Regions from separate parts of the Homo sapiens genome. Here region 2 is linked to region 1. Evidence: promoter capture Hi-C in human tissues and cell types (Jung and others, 2019). All regions are on one chromosome and are shown on one strand. The core of a region is centred on a gene start or on the middle of the fragment in contact, and the rest is flanking DNA. Distances in the headings are between cores, read along the strand shown.

Region 1 (3,672 bases), core at 75-2,574:
AAATATAAAGAAGCAGTTCTAATTTTTGAAAACCATTAGAGACCATAGACATTTGCAATGTAAAAGGCTGCAGCAAACCAATTTACAGTAAAAGTTGAAATAATATGAATTGTAAAAATATTTCTAAACTGACCATGATAAAATGAAAAACTCACAGGAAGACAACAGAACAATCAAGATGAACATAAAGTAATTCTTGAGCGTGGGGACAAGACTATGAAAGAAGTGAGAAATGTACATGCACTGGTCGCTGTGAGATGGGGAGAGACTGCTCCAACAGGGTAAATCTTAGAGACTCAAGAAGACTGACTACGTGATAAGTGACTCTCAGACGAGAAGCATTCACTGATGAAAACTCTGGCTTCCCTTTCCTTTGATGTTGCAACAGTTCTATTTTCCATTCTTTGTGAAACCTGGAGATTACTCTTCACAATTGTATTTTAACAATTCTGCTGACGCGGCAATCAGGTGGGCAAAGGGAAAGATCAGTGGCGAAGCCTGGGCAGCAAGGGATACTGGAAATAGACTATGAGAGAGATTGAGAGATTACAGTCAGCAGCTATGTGTCAGGAGGGATGAGGAAATCCGAGTTAGAAGCGCTGAGCAGTGGTGCGGCAGGAGGCAGGGAGGGTCCGGAGGAAAACAGTAAAAGGGGGCAGGAGTGGCAGAGCAAGCGTGTGACCCACAACCAAGGGAGGTAAACCACATGAGGAGCTGGTGGGGAGCAGACTGAGGCGCTGTGAGGGTGGTTAGGACAAGCCCGCCCTCCCACCCTACTTTTTCCTCCGGTGGAGAGGCAGCGACCAGTCACCTGGAGTGTGAGTTCCGGAGGGACTCGATCAGGCGCTGCTTCTGCTGCTGGAGGCTGGTGAGGCCACCGGGGGACCCAGCCGCGGAGGAGGAGGCGCTCTTGGTCAGGGGAAAAAGCCAGCTCATCCTCCTCGGGTCCACGGGCCGGAGGCCCTGGAAGGCTCTGGCCTGCTTCTCCCAGTGGCTCGGCCCGGCGGTTCTCCAGCGACAGAGGAGCGGGGTGGGACGTCCGTGGCCCAAGCGCTGGGGACCGCGTCTTCTCTAAGCCTGTCCTGCCTGCGCTCCCCGAGTTCTGGGGGACATGCTACGAACGGCGGGCGGCTGGAGAGGGAAACTTGCGGCCCGGAACAGGAGGTCCCACCTTCACGGCCCAGACGCCCAAACCGGCCAGCCAGGGAGCCTGGCCGCCCAGCGCTCCACCACCCGCGCCGCCGTCACTTGCGTGCCCCGCCCCCGGGGGCGCTCTCCGCCCCCTCTGCGTGTCGCGTCATCATCTAGCGCCCCCGTCAGGACGTGCGAAAAGCGACGGCGCAGCACGGTGCGGCGCAGCTCCTGCTCGCCTTTCCCTTCGCTGGGCGAGAGGTGTCTATGGGGCACCCGCTGCCGCCGCCGCTACCGCCACCGCCACCGCCACCGCCGCCGAGTGCTGTCTCTATGGCGAGGAGGAGGAGGAGGAGCGCGAGCTCAGCGACACAAGTAGATCTTGCATCCGCTGCAGCCTTACGGGGGGAGGGGCGGGTTAGGGAAGTAGAAAGGGGGCGGGGACGATGAACCTGAGAGGGTGCGCGATGGCGCCAGCTGGAGTGCGGCTGGCGGAGGAAGGAGCCTGGCGGCGGGTTGGGGGCTGGGTAACTGGGGCTGGGGGTTTGTCAAGGGGTTGGCGCGTAGTGATGACGCAAAGGCTTTGTACCTGGGGCTTCGCAGTGGGACGGAAATTGGGAGTGGAGGGCGGTGGCCTAGATCCTCACCTCTTCGTATTGTTTCACGCGGCAGTGCTTGGGAGTCAGTGTAGCTCCAGTCAGTGTTATCAGCACCTTCGCACTGGCGCTTTGCCAGGGAAGAGAGTTATCTATGGCTTGAATACCTCGGTGCCGTCCTCTCGTTTCTCTGGGAAACTGCAGTACGGAGATGCTTTCTCCAGTAATGAGAAGGCCTTTGGTGTCTCTTCGGGGCTTCTGGGACTGCAGTAGAGAGAGAGGTGGAGGAAAACAATGTTAGACTACAGGGTCTTTCCAAGTCTTTGTGTTTTTGTGCTTATGTGTGTGTGTGTGCCTATCGGGGTGGGAGAGTTATAAAGGAGGGGTGTCCTGGATCTCCTTTAGTTTCTCTACTTGGAGAATTGGAAGTTACATTTGTGACTCTTCAGAGTTTAGAAGACAGTCATAAGACCCTCTTTTTACTCTTGTTTTTTTTTTTTCCAATTTGTATGAAAAATGCAGAAGGATTTGAAATTTCCCTGCCCAAGAATCAACAGGAACTCTGTTTATAGACCAGAAATGTGACATCTATCTTTGGTAACCATGCAATATGCTCTAAGTTTTAGACGTTCTATTGTGTTCTTTTTCCGTTCTGCAACTGCGAACATTCAGATAATTTTCATGGCCGTTACTTTTTTCTCAGAGCATTTACAAACATTTTTGACCCCTCTAGTCTAGTTAGAATAAACGCCGGTAAAGTAGATCTTGTTATCAAGTCGGATTTTGGTTGTTTTATTAATGAGGAATAAAAATAAACACCATCTTTGCCATGGTAACATCTGATCTTGTCACATGTAAATAAGTAATTTTTCATTTTTTGTCTGGAAATGGATGGCTTTATAAAGTTTTATGCAGAGTAGTTGAACTCAGATAAATAATTAGTGGAAAGTTATAAAATATGATTAGTATGTATGTGTAAAAAAGCTATTTTAAAATAACTGAAATTAGGACCAGGAAATCTGTACTGTAGTCCTTTTTTTCCTATAGACTAGCTGTGTGACCTTAAGTTACTTTCTAAACTTTGATTTTTTTTTTTTATGAGTCAAGAACTTTGAATAAATAACTTCTTAGGTTCCTGCTGGATCAATTATTCTGTGATTCAGATTTGATATATCTGGTCTTCATATTGTTTTTTTATTTTGACAGGTACATAAATAAAGGATAAAATATTTTATGAAACAAATCTTCAATCAAGTATAACATTTTGATGCTTGGCATCTAGACTCCCTTGTGCCCTCACTATGCCAGCGGCAACTGTAGATCATAGCCAAAGAATTTGTGAAGTTTGGGCTTGCAACTTGGATGAAGAGATGAAGAAAATTCGTCAAGTTATCCGAAAATATAATTACGTTGCTATGGTATGCCCACAAGCAGATCTTTAAAACGCTTCATATAAAGGAGGAAAAGGAAATTTTAAAGTCTTGAATTCAACCCTTTTGGTTGATATTTTTAGGGATTAATTTCACCATGAAAAGTAAAATTTGTCACTGCCCTCCAGCCAAAATCCATCAGGAATACACCTGTGATTTGACAGGTTGGGTTTATCCCTCATTGCAGTGAGGGAAAACGCACTGGAATTCATGGGAACCATGGGCCGTTTGAATAAGAGTTAGGAAGGATTTGGGCTCGTGTCAGGTGGTCTTAGGGGAAGGTAAGGGAAGCAGAGCTTTACTGTGGATTGGATGTGTTCGGGAAGCTGGGGTAATTCTGTGATTGGGTATCTTACTAAGTCTTAAATGAGAGACTAGAATGAGGTTAAAGCTGCAGAGAAGGAACAGTCATTCATTTAGCCAGGATGGAGATACTTGGTCATTTTGTGGTTTGACATTTTTATTTTTTTGTCCTTGTTCAGACATGATTACAGAGTGGCCTTATTTGAGGTTGA
Region 2 (3,980 bases), core at 771-3,270, 740 kb before region 1:
AAAGAAAATGTGGTATATGTATATATGTGTAGATAGACAGATATATTTGTTTATTTATTTATACACCACAGCATACTACTTAGCCATAAAAAGGAACAAAGTAATGGCATTTGCAGCCATCTGGGTAGAGTTGGAGACCGTTAATCTAAGTGATGTAACTTAGGAATGGAAAACCAAACGTTGCATGTTCTCACTCATAAGTGGTAGCTAAGCTATGAGTATGCAAAGACATAAGCAGGATACAGTGGACTTTGGGGTTTCAGGGGAAAGGGTGGGAAGGGGGTGAGGGATCAAACAATACACACTGGGTACAGTGTATACTGCTCAGGCGATGGGTGCACCAAAATCTCAGAAATCACCACTAAAGAACTTATTCATGTAACCAAACACCACCTGTTCTCCAAAAACCTACCGAAAACAAAAATATATACCTTCTAAATTATTAACTGTAGTACCTGCACCAGCACCATCTCCATCCTCAATAATCCTGCAGGTGCATCTCATATTTGAGTTACTTTCAGCCTCAGTCTTCATACGCTCATATTCTCTCATTCTGGCTAATGCTTGATCTAAGTGAATCACGGTGTTACCTACATTTGGAACAAAAATATTTTTTGAGTATGTAAAAGTGAACTTTTTCATATATTCCTCAAAATGCATTAATAAAAAAATGTCCAAACAAAAGGGAGGAAAATTAGCTTTAACAAGTTCTACACACTATACTACTTGAGCACTTCATATACATTGTCACACTTATTTAATCCTTAAAATAATCCTATATAGTAGATGACATTACTTTCATTTGCAGAAAATTTAAGTAACTTGCTCAAGCTTTCACAGACAGTTCAATGTAGGAACAAGGATTTAAACTTAGTTATCAAACTCTGAAGCCCATATTTATTTCATTTTGTTGTTTCATTTAAACAATACAAGTGAATTCCAAAATGTCATGCAAATTCTGATGAAAACAACGCAACCTAAAACAAGCAAATTAGGTAAGAAAAAGGCCTATCAATGAAATTTCCCAATTCTATGTCTACTTCAGACACAGCTACTGGTGCAGGTTTGTAAGAAAAAAAAAAAAATACCAGTAAATGAAAGAAAATACGTAGGAGTCGAAGTATTCTGGCAACTCAGAAAGAGAGGGACAACCTAAGGGGTGAGGGTTGGCAGGCCACACAGTAATTTTTCTCTGTAATGGGATGAACTCAATGCAGACCCAAATAAGCATTTACTTAGAGGTCAGCTAAGGCTGAGTCCTCAATAATTACAATAAGCAAAAGGAAGACTTTTGTTTTGGCGAACAGTAGGAATGTAATGATAGGGCAAGGCTAAGTCCTTTTCTTTATAGTGGAAAAATACCTTTGAAATAATCTAAGTCTTCTCTTCATCACGTGAACAAACACTAGAGTAACAGGACATTACATTATTTTATCAACTAAGCACCCTGGATGGCAAATGACTGAATTCTCAGGTTCTCTTTTGATTGGCCACAGTCTAGAAACGTATCAAGTATCTACATATTTTTCTTTTCCTTAAATTTCCTTTCCAAGTCTAGGACTCGAATTTTTTCTCCACTGCAGCCAGGCAACCCTCTAAACCTCTTTTGTTTTACAGCTGATGGGAGAGGGGGAAAAAAAAAAAAACCCAAACAAACAAAAAAAAACAACCAAAACCATTTGCTATGCCTGAGAATTACTTGAGGTTTTCACTACAGGTTATTTAAGAAAACTGACTGCTTAACTCAAATTACAAAGTTAATATTTTTATTAAAAATATGATTAGATGAGGCCTGAATTGTTCCCATGAATTAACTAGATGACCTTAAACGATGACCTTTCCTTTAAGGAAAAGGAAATTAACATTTTCTGAACTCAAGCAAGTAAGTTACATTATATTTTCACAAGAACATAGCAAGGTAGGTTAAAATTCCCATTTCCTTAGTATATGCAGAGTCAAAAATGTTGGATGATTTGCTCACAGGGTTAAGAGTCAGAAGATTCTTGATTTTAGACTGATAGATAATTAAGTCCACATTCTTTCAACCACACACACTTCGCCTTTCTAGACTTGTTTCCTTATCAACGCCAATTCAAAGACTGGACCAGATCAACTTAAAGTTGTTTCTAAGATTATAAACAATTCTGCTTACCTAGATCATCTGTTGCAAAAGGCTCAAAATTTGATGATACAGACAGGACACTAGCATTATCAGCATCATTTTGCTCACTTATTTTATGGGTTTCTCTTTCAAAGTTCTTCTCAAAAGTTTCCTAAGTTACAGTAAAACAAACAAAAATCACTAATACTTCTAAGAATTTCATATTAATAATCTAACAGAGATAACTAAGTATTTACATAAAATTGTACACTTAAAAGATATTCATAAGTTTCCTCAGTATTCTGTCCAAACAAGATGATAATATAACCAAAGTTATTAAACGCTGAATACAGAGTCACAGAGAACAGTGATATAAGTAGCCTTGCAGAATATTTATTATGTAGATAAACACACACAAAGACAGCTACTGATTAAATTCTAATTTGGCAAAGTTAACATTTTACATTATTTCTATACTCTCAGGGACATTCTCCTATCTCCAAATGCTAACAATGTCTAGTAGCTTACTCTACCTGGTTGTCTCACATCAGAAAAGAAAACATCACAACATCATTTGCATTTTTAAAAAATAAACTTTATTGAAATATAATTAATATACAATGCACTCACTTTAAATGTACAGTTTGATGAGTTTTGACAAATGTATACACTCATGTAACCAGATTCCCTAAAGATAAAGACCATTTCCACTGGCCCAGGACGTTTCTTCACAACCCTCTACAGTCAATCTCCACCACACCCTACTCATGATTTCTATCACTGTAGATCAGTTCTGCTGGTTGTAGAACTTCATACAAATGGAACCAGCCAATATACACTCTTCATTGTCTGACTTTTCACTTAGTATGTTTCTGAAATGAATCCATGTTTTGTGTTTCAGAAGTTCAGAAATTATTTTTTAATGGCTGCACAGTATTCCACTGTATAGATATACCACAGTTTGTTTATCCATTTATCTCTTGATGCTTCAGTTTGAGGCTATCATGACTAAAGATGCTATGAACATTAATGTGCAAGTGTTTTTGTGATGCATATTTTCATTTCTCTTGGATGAATACCTAGAAGAGAAATTGCTGGGTCACATGCCACGTTTATGTTTATAAGCAACTGCCAAACTGCTTTCCAAGTGGTTGTGCAATTTTACATTCTCATAAGGACTGTGAGAGTTCCAACTGTTCCACATTCTCACCAACACTTCTTATTGTCAATCTTTTCATTTTAGCCATTCTTGATGTGAAGTGGTATTTTCTGTGGCTTTAATTTGCATATTAGCCATTCATATATCTTCTTTCATTAAGTGCCTGTTCAAATCTCTTGCCCAGTTTTTACTGAGTTGTCTTACAACTGAGTTGTAAGCTTTATACAGTCTATATATCAGACAGTTGTCAGATATATATACTGGGATTATTTTCCCATAACAGTATCTTTTGAAAAGCAGAAAATTCCTATTTTTGTTAAGTCTAATTTCTTAATTTTTTCTTTTATAGTTAGTGCTTTCTCTGTCCTAAGAAAACTTAGCCTATGTCAAGGTCATAATTTTTTCCCATTTTCTTTTAAAAGTTTTAATAGTGTTGGCTTTTACACGACTTTAGGTCATTTCAAATTAATTTTGTGTATAGTGTGATGGTGGTAGGGTGTCTCACTTACACTTTGATTATGACATTTTACAGTTGTGTTCTTTCCCTTAACTAATGATCTTTTTAAAGTTTCCTATCTTCAATTATGAAATCAAACATTTGTCCCTGATTAAAGGAAATTTAGACATTAAGGAACGTATTTTAGGAATAGGGAAACCATTTTTTTTACTGTTTCAAGTAAGACTTGATGTGCTTCAAGTCTTCAAGACAGATGTGCTTTT

Evidence for each region. The method cuts DNA at HindIII sites, captures the fragments that hold promoters and counts their contacts. A contact is called where the count stands out against the background at its distance.
Region 2: a fragment that was not itself captured here is called in contact with the fragment with the promoter of CNOT7 in region 1 in 1 of the 25 tissues and cell types used here (lymphoblastoid cells).

The regions. Positions count from the first base shown.
Region 1 is chr8:17,244,509-17,248,180 of GRCh38, reverse strand. CNOT7 (CCR4-NOT transcription complex subunit 7) reads left to right here and starts at 1,324. Exons shown (of 7, transcript NM_013354.7): 1 at 1,324-1,506; 2 at 2,934-3,145. The coding sequence starts at 3,029. VPS37A (VPS37A subunit of ESCRT-I) reads right to left here and starts at 1,223. Exons shown (of 12, transcript NM_152415.3): 1 at 812-1,223. The coding sequence starts at 936. RefSeq lists an enhancer at 727-1,575. The HindIII fragment of the contact is 14,692 bases long and covers 1-3,672 here.
Region 2 is chr8:17,988,152-17,992,131 of GRCh38, reverse strand. PCM1 (pericentriolar material 1) reads right to left here. Exons shown (of 39, transcript NM_006197.4): 27 at 2,153-2,273; 28 at 432-590. Among named protein-coding and RNA genes, the nearest start is that of PCM1, 67 kb to the right of the region's middle. The HindIII fragment of the contact is 6,094 bases long and covers 1-3,980 here.